4 separate regions of the Homo sapiens genome follow, and regions 1, 2 and 3 are each linked to region 4. Evidence: promoter capture Hi-C in 16 types of primary human blood cells and fetal thymus (Javierre and others, 2016). All regions are on one chromosome and are shown on one strand. Each heading gives the region's core, a stretch centred on a gene start or on the middle of the fragment in contact. The rest is flanking DNA. Distances are from core to core; before and after follow the strand shown. Region 1 has its middle 18 kb from the start of SPMIP2. Region 2 holds the start of SPMIP2 (sperm microtubule inner protein 2). Region 3 overlaps RAPGEF2 (Rap guanine nucleotide exchange factor 2). Region 4 holds the start of FNIP2 (folliculin interacting protein 2).

Evidence for each region. Contacts are between HindIII fragments. The CHiCAGO score rates a contact against its expected background, and 5 or more counts as called.
Region 1: a fragment that was not itself captured here is called in contact with the fragment with the promoter of FNIP2 in region 4 in 2 of 17 cell types (non-activated CD4 T cells and total B cells); the score reaches 5.3 in non-activated CD4 T cells.
Region 2: a contact is called between a fragment that was not itself captured here and the fragment with the promoter of FNIP2 in region 4, in 1 of 17 cell types (naive CD4 T cells). The highest score is 5.0, in naive CD4 T cells.
Region 3: a fragment that was not itself captured here is called in contact with the fragment with the promoter of FNIP2 in region 4 in 1 of 17 cell types (total CD8 T cells); the score reaches 8.6 in total CD8 T cells.

The regions. Positions count from the first base shown.
Region 1 is chr4:159,050,665-159,054,852 of GRCh38, forward strand. It overlaps a transcript of SPMIP2 not described here. Among named protein-coding and RNA genes, the nearest start is that of SPMIP2, 18 kb to the left of the region's middle. The HindIII fragment of the contact is 5,133 bases long and covers 1-4,188 here.
Region 2 is chr4:159,032,050-159,036,038 of GRCh38, forward strand. SPMIP2 (sperm microtubule inner protein 2) reads right to left here and starts at 3,180. Exons shown (of 5, transcript NM_152543.3): 1 at 2,984-3,180. The coding sequence starts at 3,047. The HindIII fragment of the contact is 2,092 bases long and covers 234-2,325 here.
Region 3 is chr4:159,130,593-159,134,511 of GRCh38, forward strand. All of the region lies in intron 1 of RAPGEF2 (Rap guanine nucleotide exchange factor 2), which reads left to right. Among named protein-coding and RNA genes, the nearest start is that of MIR3688-1, 3.7 kb to the left of the region's middle. The HindIII fragment of the contact is 3,344 bases long and covers 339-3,682 here.
Region 4 is chr4:158,767,688-158,772,123 of GRCh38, forward strand. It overlaps FNIP2 (folliculin interacting protein 2), which reads left to right and starts at 1,339. Exons shown (of 17, transcript NM_020840.3): 1 at 1,339-1,632. The coding sequence starts at 1,526. RefSeq lists a silencer at 1,080-1,289 and an enhancer at 1,247-1,984. The HindIII fragment of the contact is 6,862 bases long and covers 1-3,720 here.

The DNA.
Region 1 (4,188 bases), core at 608-3,107, 280 kb after region 4:
TGTGCCTGTAGTCACAAGCTACCCAGGAGGCTGAGGTGAGTGGATCACTTGAACCCAGGAGTTCAAGGCTGCAGTGAGTTATGATTATAACACTACATGCTAACTTGGGTGACAGAGCAAGAACTCATCCGTTAAAAAAAAAAAGCTATAAAAAAAAATCTTGGCCAGGCGCCGTGGTTCACGCCTGTAATCCTAGCATTTTGGGAGGCTGAGCCAGGTGGATCATCAGGTCAGGAAATCGAGACCATCCTGGCCAACATGGTGAAACCCCATCTCTACTAAAAATACAAAAATTAGCCAGACATGGTGGCGGGTGCCTGTAGTCTCAGCTACTCAGGAGGCTGAGGCAGGAGAATCACCTGAACCCAGGAGGCAGAGGTTGCAGTGAGCCAAGATCGCGCCACTGCACTCCAGCCTGGGGGACAGAGGGAAAGACTCCGTCTCAGAAAAAAAAAAAAAAAATCTTAAAGATGTTTCCAAAAAAGTGCTATTCTTTGCATTTTCTTACAGAAACATAAAAGCAAAGTGGCTGTATAACAGAGTAACCAGAGTTTTGGTAAATGTGGTTTGAATTATGTTCAGATGAATGCAAAGTGATATGTTTTCTGGAAAAGGTATCTAGCACATAGCTTTTTTATTGCTTGAAACTGCTTAAGATTTCACATGGACTTTTGGGGGGAGCTTCGTCCTTCTTGAAAATCTAATACCACCAGACTGTAAACTGCTCAGAAGAAAGGATTACACCCACCATTTCCCATGCCTCTCCCCACAGTGCCTGGTACTTCGTACACAATAGAAACTAAGAAATATTGTGTCTGAATTACTAAAGCGTCACATTCAAAGCACTTTCATTACCAAATGCAAAGCAGAGACCATTTATACTATGGTTATTTCCAAAATCTCTTGCTGCTAATTAATGAACTCTTATCTGTCATGAGATGTAACATCTATTTAGAATGATGGAAATAGAATTTCTCTCTTTCATTCTTTTGTCATTCTCATTCTACCATTCATTTATTTCTTCAATAGCAAACACATTTGCTTTTTATTTATTACTCAGGTTTTTGCTCCTAGCATAGTGAAACTGTCTGCAATGTCAGAAGAGATGTGTTAAGCTCTGGTACCCAGCTGCGTGCTGAAATATAGTAAACGACTGGCATTCTTATCGCAGTTTCTGTGGCCTATTACTCTTTGTTTCATTACTGTTTAATATTTACTAAGAGTGCTGTCAGCTCCTGCGCTTTCATTTCCTCTCCTTCACAGGCATCTCCCCCTCCTTCCTTGCTCTTCCTTGCCCTGCCCCCACACCCTCCAGCTACCTACTATCAAGCTCACTGGAATTCTGGATGCTAAAAAAAAAACAAAAACAAAAACCAAATTTCCCTTGCCATCTTTCATTTGCAAGATTCCCCCCAGAAAGTGCAAATGATTCGGATGGAGGGAAGCAGACAAAAGAGATGAGTTCTCCAGGCCAAGTACATAGAGCTAAAGCAGACGTCTCACACTGACGGCCAGTGTACCTAGTTCGCACAATGTTTTGATTTCTTTTTTTTCCAGATGAACCAATATCAAAATATCAGGCCTTGTGTGCTAATAGAAATGTCCAAATTCTCTTAAAAAATTGGAAGACCTGGACCTACATTCCTGCATGGTAACAATCAGCTACAGCAGAGTGTCCCATGCTCCATGAGTTAAGTAGACCCTGAAAACAACAACAACAACAACAACAACCAGCAACCAACAACCAACACAACCCCTGCACACGGTAAAAAAGATTTATCTGCTCAGATGCCACAAACTCTGCAACTAGCCAGTTGTGCAGGGTAAAGCCGACTGAAACAGTGAGAAGTTTTGTGGTTGGAACTTGATTCCCCTGAGGCTCCATCTTCTCTTCCGTAGATGGGGTAGTGATGCTGCTATCTGTCCCCATGGGATTATCTCAAGACTATTATTATTATTATTATTATTTTATTATTATTATTATTTGAGGCGGAGTTTTGCTCTTGTTGCCTAGGCTGGAGTGCAATGGTGCGATCTCGGCTCACTGCAACCTCTGCCTTCCAGGTTCAAGCCATTCTCCTGCCTCAGCCTCCTGAGTAGCTGGAATTACAGGCGCCTGCCACCACGCCTGGCTAATTTTTTGTATTTTTAGTAGAGACGGGGGTTTCTCCATGTTGGCCAGGCTGGTCTTGAACTCCTGACCTTAGGTGATCTGCCTACCTCAGCCACCCAAAGTGCTGGGATTACAGATGTGAGCCACTACGCCTGGTCGACTATTATTATTATTATTATTTTTTTTTTTTTTTTTTTGAGACGGAGTCTCGCTCTGTCGCCCAGGCTGGAGTGCAGTGGCGGGATCTCGGCTCACTGCAAGCTCCGCCTCCCGGGTTCACGCCATTCTCCTGCCTCAGCCTCCCAAGTAGCTGGGACTACAGGCGCCCGCCACTACGCCCGGCTAATTTTTTGTATTTTTAGTAGAGACGGGGTTTCACCGTTTTAGCCGGGATGGTCTCGATCTCCTGACCTCGTGATCCGCCCGCCTCGGCCTCCCAAAGTGCTGGGATTACAGGCGTGAGCCACCGCGCCCGGCCGACTATTATTTTTTAAAATATGATTTGAGTGACAGTATCGACTACATGGCTGCTAGTTTTTCTGGGTTCATTCTTTTGGGTTAAATGGTATCTACTTGATGCTCCCCCTTTTAAAATACAAGCATACACGGATGGGTAATATATTGAGTTACAAATGCACCTAGGTTGAGTTACACCTAGGAGAATACAAGGATGGCTGTGGGCCGGTAGGGTCCCCTAGCCATGAACCCCACACCTCACATTCTTAGTTTCCCCTAGCCCGTGCCTTCCTATTTTAGGTCTCTTCCAGGATCTTTTGGTGCCTTCTGAAAACTCAATGTGTGTTTTGTTTCTGAGTTCCCTTCTACCACCCCATCATTTTAAGTCATTCCTGGGAGATATGGACCTTACTAGTCCATTCTGTAGGAGCCATTCTAAGCAGACTGAATCCATGGGTGGTATAAGGTTGGCAGAGATTTCCCTTCCTTCTTTTCTTCCTCCCTCCCTCCTTCCTTCCTCTTCTTTCTTTCCTCTTCTTTTTCTTTCTTTCCTTCAATTAGAAACAAATCCAAGACTGAGCACAGTGGTTCATACCTGTAATCTCAGCACTTTGGGAGGCTGAGGTGGGAGGATTGCTTGAACCCAAGAATAAACCAGGCTGGGCAACATAGTGAAACTTGTCTCAAAAAAAAAAAAAGAGAGAAAGAGAAAGAAAAGAAAATAAACAAATCCAGATTTCAGCAATTCATTTTTTAAAGAGATGGAATCTTGTTTTTTTGCCCAGGCTGGAGTATAGTGGTGCAATCGTCACTCACTGCAGTCTCCTAATGCCTGGACTCAAGCAGTCTTCCTGCTTCACCTCCTCAGCCTCTGAATAGCTGGGACTACAGGTGCATGCCATTACACCTGGTTAATTTTTTTTTATTTTTGTAGAGACAGGGTCTCACTATGTTGCCCAGACTGTTCTTGAACTCCTGTCCTCAGGTGAACCTCCCGCCTTGACCTCCCAAAGTGTTGGGATTACAAAGTGTTGGGTGGTTGTGAACCACGGTGCCCAGACTATTTCAGCAATTTTTTTCCAATTAGTTTATCATTATTCCAGCTCAAGTCTTTCCTTAAAAATCATATCATAATGACCTCCCCTCCTCCATCTTGCATGGATGCAGGAAATGTAGCCCTAACTCCTAGGATTTCTGAGAAGCCAGGGATCATGTTGACAAGTTCCACAAGCCCATTTTGGCTGCCACTGTCCCCTCTCACTCCCCACCACACTGGAAGCCTTTTCCTCCATCACCTCTCGTGCTCACACCTCTCCCCAGTCCACTTTCCTCCAGAGCACAGACACGTGCTTCCCTCCTATCCCTCAGTGCACTGCTAACAGAAAGCCATTGTCTTTAACATTCTTCACTGGATGGTGGGCGCTACACACAAAATGGAAAACAACTTGAGACTTCAGTTTTTAAAACTTTGCTCCTGAGGACAGTGGCCATCCCCTTTCCAGACCTTCTCCTGCTTGCCTCTGTCCTCCACCAGCTCAGCTGCTCAATGCACTATCTTTCATGGTCTTCCTCCCCAACCCCTCCCACCCTGCCCCTTGCCACTCACATAGAAAATGCTT
Region 2 (3,989 bases), core at 30-2,529, 260 kb after region 4:
CATCTCTACTAAAAATACAAAAAATTAGTGGGCATGGTGGCTCACGTCTGTAATTCCAGCTACTTAGGAGGCTGAGGCACGAGAATCACTTGAACCCTGGAGGGAGAGACTGCAGTGAGCTGAGATCATACCACTGCACTCCAGCCTGAGCAACAGAGGGAGACTGTCTCAAAAAAAAAAATTGTTGGGCTTTAAATACGTATACATTGTTCATAGTATATACAATTCTCTAAAGCTTGTGGCATTAATAAGTTATATATCTGTTTGTATCTTTCACCTGCTAATTCTGCTCTCTCTATATATACCACATGAAAATAAGAGAACAAGAAAAATAATTTATGCAAAGTATTCATACAAATTTGTAACAGTAAAAATTAGGAAATTATAAAATACAGGAGGCTGTGAAGCTAAGTATTATATGTCAGTATAATGAAAGGCAGAAATCTATCAAAGGTGACAACAATTTGAACTATGTAAATACATAAAACTAAGTATATACACTGGTGTAAGTTAGAAGAAATTTTAAGTGTTAATTAAGACTCTTGCACAGTTCCAAATGACAGAAAACCCAACCCAAACTGGCTAAGGAAAAGAGGAGATTTATTGGCTGATGAAAATTAAAACTTTAAAAGGCACAAAAATCTCTTCAAAATAGATTATAGACCTAAATGAAAACGTAACATTGTAAAATGTCTAAAAGAAAACACAGGATAAAAATCTAAATGACCTTTCTTTTTTTTTTTTTTTGGTAAAAAAGTCAAAAACAGACAATACCAAAGGCTGACAAGGACACAAAGCAACAAGGACTCTCATTCATTGCTGATGGACATGCAAAATAGTATAGCTAGTTTAGAAGACAGTTTGGCTTAACACAGGATCCAGCAATTACTCTCCTAGGTATTTACCAAATTGATTTGAAAACATATCCATGCAAAAGGCTGCACATAAATGTACATAGAAGCATTTCTCACAATTGCCAAAAACTGGAAGCCACCAAGATGTCTTTCGATAGGGGAAGGGATGAACAAATTGTGACACATCCACACAGTGAAATATTATTCAGTGGTAAAAAGAAATAAGCTATCAAACCATGAAAAGATGTGGAGAAGCCTTAAAATGATATTGATGAGGAAATGAAGCCAATCTGAAAAGACTACATACTGTATAACTCCAGCTCTGTGACATTCAAGAAAAGGCAAAACTGTGGAGACAGTGAAAAGATCAGTGGTTGCCAGGAGCTAGGGGGAAAGGGGGAGGGGGGAATGAATAGGTGAAGCACAAGAGATTTTTTAAGTGGTGAAACCATAACGTATGGTACTATAATGGTGAATACATGGTCCTATTAATTTGTCAAGACCCCCATATATTTAATAGCATAAAAAGCAAACCTTAATGGATGCAAATTAAAAAAAATTATTTACGAGATTGTAGGATTTCAGGAAGGAATTCAGACTGTGACAAGAAAATCTAACTGTATTACAAGTGCATAAAACAACCTTACTGAAGAGGCTAGAAAGAAAATGTGCAGACTTAAGTAACTTTGGAAATGAATAGAGTTTATAAGAATAAAGGCAAAAGGAATTGCAGATAAGCAGTGTACTCTTGTTGACAAAGTCCTTCTCACAGGAGTAAAAAAGAGGTAAGAGTGAGGAAAGAGATGTTTTTCCCAAAGCCAAGTGAGTCACAAGAAGGGGAGTGGATGAGATGGATGATGAGCAACACAAATCATAAATGCCCACCATAAATATGCATTTGATTATTTTTCTGTAACATTGTAAAATATGCTCACACTTTGGAAAAAAAGAAAAAAAGGCCAGGTTCACGCCTGGAATCCCGACACAGGTGGGTGGATCACTTGAGGTCAGGAGTTCGAGACCAGCCTAGCCAACATGGTGAAACCCCATTTCTACTAAAAGTACAAAATAAATAAATAAATAAACAACCACATGTGGTGGCATGTGCCTATAGTCCTAGCTACTCGGGAGACTGAGGCAGGAGAAACACTTGAACCTGGGAGGTGGAGGGTGCAGAGAGCCCAGATCGTGCCATTGCACCCTAGTCTGGGCAACAGGGCGAGACTCTGTCTCAAAAAATAAATAATTTGGAAAAAAAGGAAATAAAATGAAGTTTAGTTTATGCCTTATAGACTTACCACAACTAGTCATCTTCTATTTTTTAGATATTATTATAATTTCACACACACTGCCCAAATCATTTAAAGTAAGCTGAATGAACAAAACTCAAACCAATCACTTTACTAGGTTTAATGCATATCCTGCTCAAATTTTTATCAAGCAAATATGTCAAGTTTATAATGTTATGAGAAGCTTAAATCAGTGTTAATAAAAATTCGATGAAAAGTATGTTTTTTATTACATCAAAGAAGTTTCTCTTGCACAAACCATAAAAGCTATGCTAATTCAAATATTCCTTTGTGAAAGTTACCTCAGATATAGTGACAACTGCTGTGTTAAAGACATGTTTATGGCAACAAGATGATGATGATCAGACTGAGTGGGCATAATGAGATAGCAGTATCATGTAAATTAAATGTAGGTGGGTTGGGCATGGTGGCTGATGCCTGTAATCCCAGCACTTTGGGAGGCCTATGCAGGCAGATCACCTGAGGTCAGGAGTTCAAGGCCAGCCTGGCCAACATGGTGAAACCCTCATCTTTACAAAAATACAAAAATTAGCTGGGCATGATGGCAGATGCCTGTAATCCCAGCTACTCAGGAAGCTGAGGCTGGAGAATCTCTTGAACCCAGGTGGCGGAGGTTGCAGTGAGCCGAGATCGCGCCATTGTACTCTAGCCTGGGCGACAGAGCGAGACTCTGTCTCAAAAAAAAAAACCCAAAAAACAAACAAAAACAAAAAACATATGTGATCATTGCATTGTTATATCCATTATATAAAAATCATATATGTGAGAGAAAAAGCAAATTTAGATCTCCTTGTGAAAGCAAACACAAAAACTATTTACCTGTAAAAATCATTTGTTTTCCCACAGTAGTAGATGTTGGCTTTTGGTATGATACAGATGCCATGGCTAAAGTCTTAACCGTGCTACTGGATTTTCTTCTTCGGCTTCTTCAAATCAGTTAAGCTGCACCAGAAAGAACGAAAGACTCTGCAGTCTTTCCTCTCCCTGCTTGTGACCTGCACCAGGTGGTTGCTAATGACTCTTTATGACAGGGAGATAGAATGTTCCTCCTTGCAGAGTTCTGCATTCCAATCTCCAAGAGCAGAGACAGATACTGCTATAGTCTTCCCAGAACTTGCATCCAGTAATAACTTTTCCTTATTTGTCAATATCAAGTCAGAATACACTTGTTCACAGGTACTAGATCCAGTTCCAGCTTATGTCCCAGATAATCTGGCAGGCTCAGTCACCACTGTCTTTCAACATTTCAAAAAGAATGTCTTGCAGAAATATGTTACAGCAAAAAACAAAAAGCCCCCACAAACCATGGTTAAATATATTTGACAAACACTGGCAAGATAAAATACAGTAAAAAATAACATTAATAAATTAATGAGATAATTACACACACACAAATATATATAGATATATTTCCAGTCTCATATTCCAATCCCTCCTTAAATAGTGCTTGTGCTTTGGTCATGTCAATTTACCTGTGGTTCTCAATCTGTGCAATGCTTTCTCATTGTTCTGAGCCTTTACACATACAATTTGCTCTTCCTGTAATGTTGCTATGCAAATATTTCTTGTCCTTTGACAGCCAAGGCCCACATCTGCTCTTCCAGGAGGATGTCTGCAGACACAGCTAAGTGCTTTCTTCTTCATGTCCCTTTAACCTCTATAGCACTGTGTTTAGATGTATCTTTTTAACTCACCACTTCAATTATTTGTCTATTTTATCGACCTCCCCACTAGAATCTGACTTCTAGGAGTTTATGATAAAAGTATACTTATTTATATTTCAATTTCCAGAGACTTGTATGCAATAAATAGTTAATAGATGTTT
Region 3 (3,919 bases), core at 761-3,260, 360 kb after region 4:
AAAATTAAAAATTTTTAAACAATTAGAGTTAGTAGAGTAGGACTGGAAGGGCTTCTTTTAATTTAGACCCAGGCTTAGCGAATAAATTACTCTAAATAAAAGTTATCTATTATTGTTTTATTTTATTTTATTTTTTGGGACAGGATGTTGCTCTGTTGCCTAGGCTGGAGTGCAGTGGCACAATCTCGGCTCACTGCACCCTCCGCCTCTCAGGCTCAGGTGTCCTCCCACCACAGCCTCCCAAGTAGCTGGGACCATAGGCGGGCACCACCACGTCTGGCTAATTTTTGTATTTTTTGTAGAGACGGGGTTTCACCATGTTGCCCAGGCTGGTCTCAAGCTTTCGGGCTCAAGCAATCTGCCCAAAGTGCTGGGATTACAGGCGCAGCCACACCCAGCCAGCTATTATTATTTTAACTTTACCTTTTTAAATAGCATGTTTTACTCTCCAGGTTTATTTGAAAATAATACAGAGTTTCGCGTGTTGTTTTGTGTGTGTGTGTGTGAGAGAGAGAGAGAGAGAGAGAGAGAGAGAGAGACAGAATTTCGCCCTTGTTGCCCAGGCTGAAGTGCAATGGCACGATCTCGGCTCACCGCAACCTCCGCCTCCTAGGTTCAAGCGATTCTGCTGCCTCATCTTCCTGAATAGCTGGGATTACAGGCATATGCCACCACACCCAGCTAATTGTGTATTTTTAGTAGAGACAGGGTTTCTCCATGTTGGTCAGGCTGGTCTCGAACTCCCAACCTCAGGTGATCCGCCTATCTTGGCCTCCCAAAGTGCTGGGATTACAGGCATGAGCCACCGCGCCCAGCCTCGCATGGTTTTAATAACGTTTAAGATTGATTGATTGCTGATTTTGTCAGCAGATACTATGTTAAAGACTTAAATGTATTATCTTGATATCTTTGTCTGATTAATTGCTATTTTTTTTTTTTTTTTTTTTTTTTTTTAGCTTTTGCTGTTGTTGTTTTTGTTCAGTCAGCTATACTATTTGGAGTTTTTACTAGTTGAAGAGAAATATAAGTGCTAAGTGCAGTTAAAGTTCTTTGGGCTTTGGGAACCTTGGGCTAGAGAACTTTGGGCTTGATTAACGTCTTTCGCGTTGTTGTGTACTTGGGAAAGTTATCGGGTTTTCTCAGCAGTCCTACAGCCCGGCATCTCCTTGTTTGTCAGAAACAAAGACTTGGCATACTCGATATTTCCATTCCTTAAGAAGTTTTAACATAGAATTACTTTGTTAATACTTAGCCTTTCTTTGTAGGGCCATAGGTGGGAACTTTGGTTCTCTATGCTAACTGAAAAAGCCAGAGGAAATGTGTGGGAAGTTACAGTCTCCTTACCAAGAGGATCCAGATTCAAATCTGGATACTTGCAACAAAAGTCCAGATTTTAATGGGTATATTGTTTGAAACTATCAAGTTGGAGAGTAAAATATTCCCGGTGTTTTTGCTTATCTAACTGTTGCCATTAGGATAATGTCTTAGCTTGAGGGTGAACTTTGTTATTGGACCACACTATTTAGAGAGGGGCTAGTTGGTCTAGAATTTATCAAGAATTGAGAAACATTTATTCAGATATATTCATAAGCCTGTGTCTTGCACAGAAGTACGTTATCTTCAGGTTATCTAGCTCTAACACCATTTTATGATCGTACTTCACAGTCTCAACTGCAGAATGAAAGAGTTACTTTGCTAGATTTTGGAATGTGGGCTCTCAAGGAGACTTAAGTTCTTCCGAAATTCTAAAATAATCCATCCAGATCCTATGGTTGTGATGGGTGTGTGTATCTGTGTTTAAATGATGTTTTTGAGTCCTTTGGTTGTAGAGGACAGTGTCTCCTTGTGTCTGTGGCAAGGAGTCTTGTTTGTTTCTCTTTGGTCCTTACAAGACATAGAAAGGGCTGTCTCTCCTTTAGGGATAGATGAGCACCGTACTCCAGGACAGAAAGAGGTAGATGGTTTTTAAAGGCGTGGCAAGTTGTTGGCTTTTTAAAATCTGACTTTTCTCATTTATGCCTCCTTTTTCTAAATTATAGCTTTTTCTTCCAAACCATTCTTTGTTGTCTATTTCTCACACTCCTTATTTTCTTCATTTTTGTGGGTGGTGGGTCAGAAAGAAAGGTTAAATACAGTCTTTTACGTTGATTGCTCATTTTCTTTTGGTAGTTGAAAGTTATGTGCGTTTTAAGTGTATATGATAATGTTTTTTCTTTCTGGAATGTTTTTAGTGTTCTAGAAATGTTTATAACTTGTACCTAAATTAATATTTTAAATATTATATACTTAGTTTTTTTTTTTTTGCATAGTTCACATGTCAAAAAGTATAAAAAGTTATACAGTGCAGTCTTACTTTCCTCTCCCACACCTGCCTAACTCCCAGTTCCCTTCTGGTAGTGAGTGATTTTCATTGCTTGTTTATTCTTCCCAAAAATTAAAAAAATTCATACACAGATCCATAAAAACATATTTTTCTTCTTCTCAAGTTATATCTACATACATATCTGCCCTTTTATTTATTTAATGTAAAGTATAGTTTGGAAAGATGTATACTGATCTTTCCATATCAGTACATGAAGAGCTCCTGTGTGTGTGATTAACCATTACAGAATATCACAGGGCTGCAATGAATACCCCTCACATACCTGACCTGCAAAATTTCTGCTGGGCCAAAGTGTGCTTGCATTTCTAATTTTGCTTGTTGTTGTAGAAGTGGCTTACAGGACTACTAGCATTGTATTAGTGCATTTCTTTTCCTTTATTTTTAAAATATAAACTTGTAATATATATGGTAAGATTAACCTTTTTAAGTGTAAAGTTGTATGAATTTTTTTTTTTTTTCAGAGTTTTGCTCTTGTTCCCAGGCTGGAGTGTAGTGGTGCGATCTCAGCTCACTGCACCCTCCACCTCCCAGGTTCAAGCAGTTCTCCTGCCTCAGCCTCCCGAGTAGCTGGGATTACGGGCGCCTGCCACCACGCGTGGCTACTTTTTTGTATATTATTTATTTATTTTTCGGAGTCTGGCTCTGTCACCCATGCTGGAGTGCAGTGGCATGATCTCGGCTCACTGCAAGCTCCACCTCCCGGGTTCATGCCATTCTCCTGCCTCAGCCTCCCGAGTAGCTGGGACTACAGGTGCCTGCCACCACGCCCAGCTAATTTTTTGTATTTTTAGTAGAGACGGGGTTTCACCGTGTTAGCCAGGATGGTCTCGATCTCCTGACCTTGTGATCCGCCCGCCTCGGCCTCCCAAAGTCCTGGGATTACAGGCGTGAGCCACCGCGCCTGGCCAATTTTTTGTATTTTTAATAGTGATGGGGTTTCACCATGTTGGCCAGGCTGGTCTTGAACTCCTGACCTCAAGTGATCCACCCGCCTGGACCTCCCAAAGTGCCAGGATTACAGGTGTGAGCCACCACGCCTGGCAATTCTGTGAGTTTTAATTTGTATACAGTCATGTCACCACTGCAACTGCAATCAAAATTAAGACATTTTCATTGCCCAGAAAAGGTCCCTTGTGCCTTTGTGCCTTTTTGTAGGCAGTCCTCTCCGTCTAGCCTGTCTCTGGCAACCAGTGATCTGATTTCTATCCTTATAGTTTTGCCTTTTTAAGAATGTCTTGTACTGTACATGGAGTCATATAGTGTACAGTCTTTTTTGCATGACTTTTTTCACTAAGCACAAGCTTTTGAGATTCAGCCATAGTGTTGTATGTATCAATGGTTTGCTTCTTTTTATTGCTGAATAGTATTTCATTGTATGGATGTACTGAAATTTGTTTATTCTTTCTCCAAGTGATGAATATTTAGGTTGCCTCTAGTTTTTGGCAGTGATGAATGAAGCTGCTATAAATGTTCACATATTAATATGGACACATGTTTTCCCCTTCTTGATAGATACTTAAATGTGAGATTGTTAGG
Region 4 (4,436 bases), core at 89-2,588:
ATTTTAACAGTAAAAGTCCGAAGGAAACAAATGACTAAGTTTCCATTTCTACCACCTTTCTCTTACCTTTGTGAAATTTCAGCACATTATTCACAGCTAGTTCCCAACCAAGTCCAGAAACTAACACAATTAAAAAAAGAAAATGCAAAGTAAAATAGGCCCAGAATAGGTTCTTTTGATTACTTATGTTTTTGGAAATATATTTTCCTTTTTGAGTCTCCAAGAGTCCTCCTCTCAACAAGTGTAAGAGAGCCCAGGTGAGTCACTGTTCACTACTCATGGAGAAGCTAGAAGAGGCATGGTTGGGGTCTTACTAACTTTATCTCTATTTCCCATCATCGGAAAAATTCGTGAAGCCCAACGCTCTAAAACATAGATTAAGAAGTTGCTTTGAGTCTGGTAACGTGTCCTACACTGGCTGTTTAGAGCCCTGCACCACCAAGGATTAAATTCCAAAGGGGACTGGGGTGGGACAGGGCAGGAAAGCGGACTCAAACACATGAACTCCTCCCTTCCTCAAACCAAATATCTGCTGCTGATATGCCTTGATTGACTGTTAAATATGTATTAGGAAAAACAATCCCTTGCTATAAAATATCTTAAGTTTCTAAATCTATGTAGTGAGTTCTGTGTGTGTGTGTGTGTGTGTGTGTGTGTGTGTGTGTGTATGTTTTAAAGGGGGGACTTAATATTTCAAATGCAACTTCTTATATAACCATGGTATGGTGGCCCAAGACGCCAAACAGAACAAATGATTTGGATAAACAGTTTAAATTTTGTGAAAGCCTGGAGGAATCGAATTTGGACATGGAGGAAACCTGACAAAACCTTGGGTGCTATGTGATTCAAATCACAGCCCACCGAAGCGGCCACCGCGCGTACCAAGCCTTCCCCCCTAGCATACGCCTTCTGTGAACGGGCTCTTGTACCTGAACAAAGCGAGGACCCAAGTTCAGGGGCTTTGTCTCTAAAGAACAAAGATCGGCCTAGCTGCATGCTCGCTGTGCGAAAGAACCCAGGCTCCGTGGGAACCCCACGCCACTCGCGGAGCTGCGCCCCGGCGGCCGCCCTCGCCCCTCGGGCCCCTTTAAGTGCCGCGCCTGCCCCCGTCCGCGTCCCCCGCGTGCCCGGAGTACTGGGCCGCCCGCCCGCTCCTGGCCGCACCTCCCACCTCCCGCCTCCCGCCGGGGTTACGTGAGCCCGGGGCGGGCGGCCGCCGGGCCAATGGCCGCCGCCGGGGCCGCCGCGCTCCTCCCGCGCCGCCGCCGCCGCCGTGGGGCTGCGGGCTCCTCCCGCAGGAGATAACTGTCAGCGCGCGAGGCGGTGGCGGGCCGGCTCAGTCATATGACCGGCAGCCGGCGGCTCCGGCGCCGAGCAGAGTTACTCAGTCGCAGCGGCCCCGCGCTCCCGCAAGGCTGGGCGGCCGCGCCGCCGCGATGGCCCCGCCACCGCGGCCGCCGCCCCCGGCTGCGCGCTGAGCCGCCGGCCCCCCGAGCGCCACGGCCGGAGCTGCGGCGGCGGCATCATGGCCCCGACCCTGCTCCAGAAGCTCTTCAACAAAAGGGGCAGCAGCGGCAGCTCCGCGGCGGCGTCTGCCCAGGGCAGGGCTCCTAAGGAAGGACCCGCCTTTAGGTGAGGGGGCGCCGGGGGGCAATTCTGGCGCGGGACCCGAGTTGGCTTCGGTGCTCGCCGGGGAGGGGACGGGTAGGGGAAAGGGAAGGGACTGTCCAGGACGGCGCTGCCTATCGCCGGCACCTGGTCCCGGGCTTGTCAGCGTGGACGCGCCTGATCCGAGTGTGGCTCCGGACCCTCCGTGACCCTTCCTCCCGCTCTTTCTCCACAACTCAGGGTCCTTCCCCATTTCAGAGTTCTCTTGTGTTCCTTGGGGTTCCCGGGCGTGCGCTGTGCTTGGCTGTGGCGACCGGAGATTCTCCGGTTATTGGGGTGAACCCCTTCCGGGCAGAGCCGCCTGGGCACCTCTGCGGGCCCAGCAAAGCTGTGAGCTGTCATTTTGAGGGCAGCTCCAACCTATTGTGTACGTGACAGTGTTTTGAAGTTCTGAAGGAGCAACAGTCACGAAAAAGGCATCTTTCTTCTTTCTTGCCATATATGACAAGCTCTCAAACGGATGAATGAAAGTATGTAATTTCCACATCATGTGGAAGGTTGATGCCGCATGATGTGTGGAAAGGGGGAGTAAGATGCAATTATGAAATTTCCGAGATTTCAATTGATCAAAGCTGATATGTATATTTAATAGATTTGATCTCTCGAACACATACCTTTGAATATTGATAGCATTTATGGAGAGCTTACTACCTAAAATGCTTTATGTTGATTTCTGTCGTTTACTTTTCTGACAATGCGGTGAGGTGGGTGCTATTATAATTCCCATTTTACAGGTGAGGAAACTTAAAGTCACAGATAACTTAGGCGGCTTGCCCAAAATCCAGCTGTCAGTGGTAGAGCCTGTGTTTTGACCCAAGCAGTTTGACCACAGATTCCAGTCTTTAAAATCCCTATGCTATTCTGATTTCAAGGGCTAACTTTTAAAAGACGCCTTAAAATGTCCTATATTGCCTTTGAGCACAGGTATGTTGAGAAGTTTATTTAACAATTTTTCAACACATTTTAAAATTGAGCACCAACTCCCAATTCTGACACTATGCTAGGTGCTTTTTGGCCAAAATGTCTTGCAAAAACAGTTCACTGTTAAACAGATCTAGACCCAGTATAATAAACCTTTAAAAGTTTCAAGTGAAACTTTGAAATAAATTCTGGATTAAGTTTTATGTTCTAGATTTTGCTTTTCTTGAATTCCATCATTTAAAACAGTCTCTCACTGTGGTCATGTGAAAATTAAACGTGTGTGTGTGTGTGCACGCGCGCTCATGGAAGGCATATTGTGAGGACCTTAAACTCCCCAAGTTAAATTCTCATGTTTTCTTTAGGCTAACAAGCCTTATAATTTGAGTGGGAATTCTATGCCTTTTGTTAGGCTGAGTATTAGTGATGCCATGTACCTTCTCAGAATGGTAGAATTACTTCGGACCTAAGGTGTGTAATTTCGTCCCTTCCCTCCCTGTAACCCAGACTCCATCAGGGGTACAAAGCCTGGAGCGGAAGGAGCATGTTACAGGTGTCTGTACTTTGACAGCTCTTGCCAAGGACATTTAAAGCCATTTGAATGCAGGAGGAGATAGTGGCGGTTACTTGTCATTGTTTTCTGTGCTCCTTGCCTAATTGCCTACCACCATTTCCGCTATCCACAAGTTTAACTGAGTGTATTTGAACAAAAAAAATATGGCTATATTTAGGGTTTTGGGCCATATTAGGGAAATTGATTCCCACTTCATGGGAACATTTTCAGTAGTGTTCTGACTTCTCATTTGTGTATAATGAAGAACAGAAAATCGTGCCAAGTACGGTCTTTTTTTTGACCTCATTGGGATTTTCTACAAGAATTTGAGATCGATGTTTTTGGAGAATTTGGGGATCCCAGTTGAACATCCTACTTGATGAGGGCCCCCTTCAATAGTGTCCCTGATAGAGGTCACCATGGAAAAGAAAGTAAAGTAGCAGATGTGAGCAAGGATGCTGGACGATGGGAACAAACCATCCTGTGCTCACCAGACTGACAAAGGAGACCCCAAGCAAGTCTTTCCTTTTGCTCTTTTCACCTGGCTTAATTCTAAGATGCTGTGTAGCTGGCCTGGGAAAAGCTTCCAGGAAAATTTTTCTCTCTACCTAAAAAATTGTGAACCTGTGTTTCATTTTACCCAGATTTTGCCAAATAGGAGTTGGTATGTACTTTGAGGGGAACAAGGTGCCTTATTGCAGGGCATTAGCTGCCCTTGGGAACTACCTTGTAGTTAAATAGAGTTTTAGAAGTGAAGCTAAAACCCTTAGATTAAAAATCGAGTATTCCTAACATGAATTTGTATTCTTTAGTGCATTTAAGTACAGGATGTAACTTGTTTATCTGGAGATTGAAAATTCACTGAGGATTCAGGTAGACTTTTGGGGCAGTTTTGTAGTGTATATGGGGGAGAATCTAAGATCCAACTTTTTGTTTGTTTGTTTTAGAGTTTGTATATCTTCTGTTTCCATGATGGACTTTCACTGGTTATTTTAAACTTCTCTTCTCAGAATTGTTTTGCCCTTGTTGTTAGTCTTTTTACTCTTGTGCACTTCCTAGTCCCTTCGCTGGGCTTATGACTGTTCTCATTCCTCCAGTTTTTACACACTTGATTAGAGAGGAAATCTGTTGTCCAATATAACTAGTTTATCTCACAGGTCATTTTCAGGACTTCATGTTTCCTGGCATTTCATCTAAAAACAGGATCATCATAGTCAAGATTTCTTCTGGAGTATTTCCTTTAGGATCTTGACAGAAAGCCCTTTTCATAGCTTTGAGGAAACAGGTTGCTAGGAAA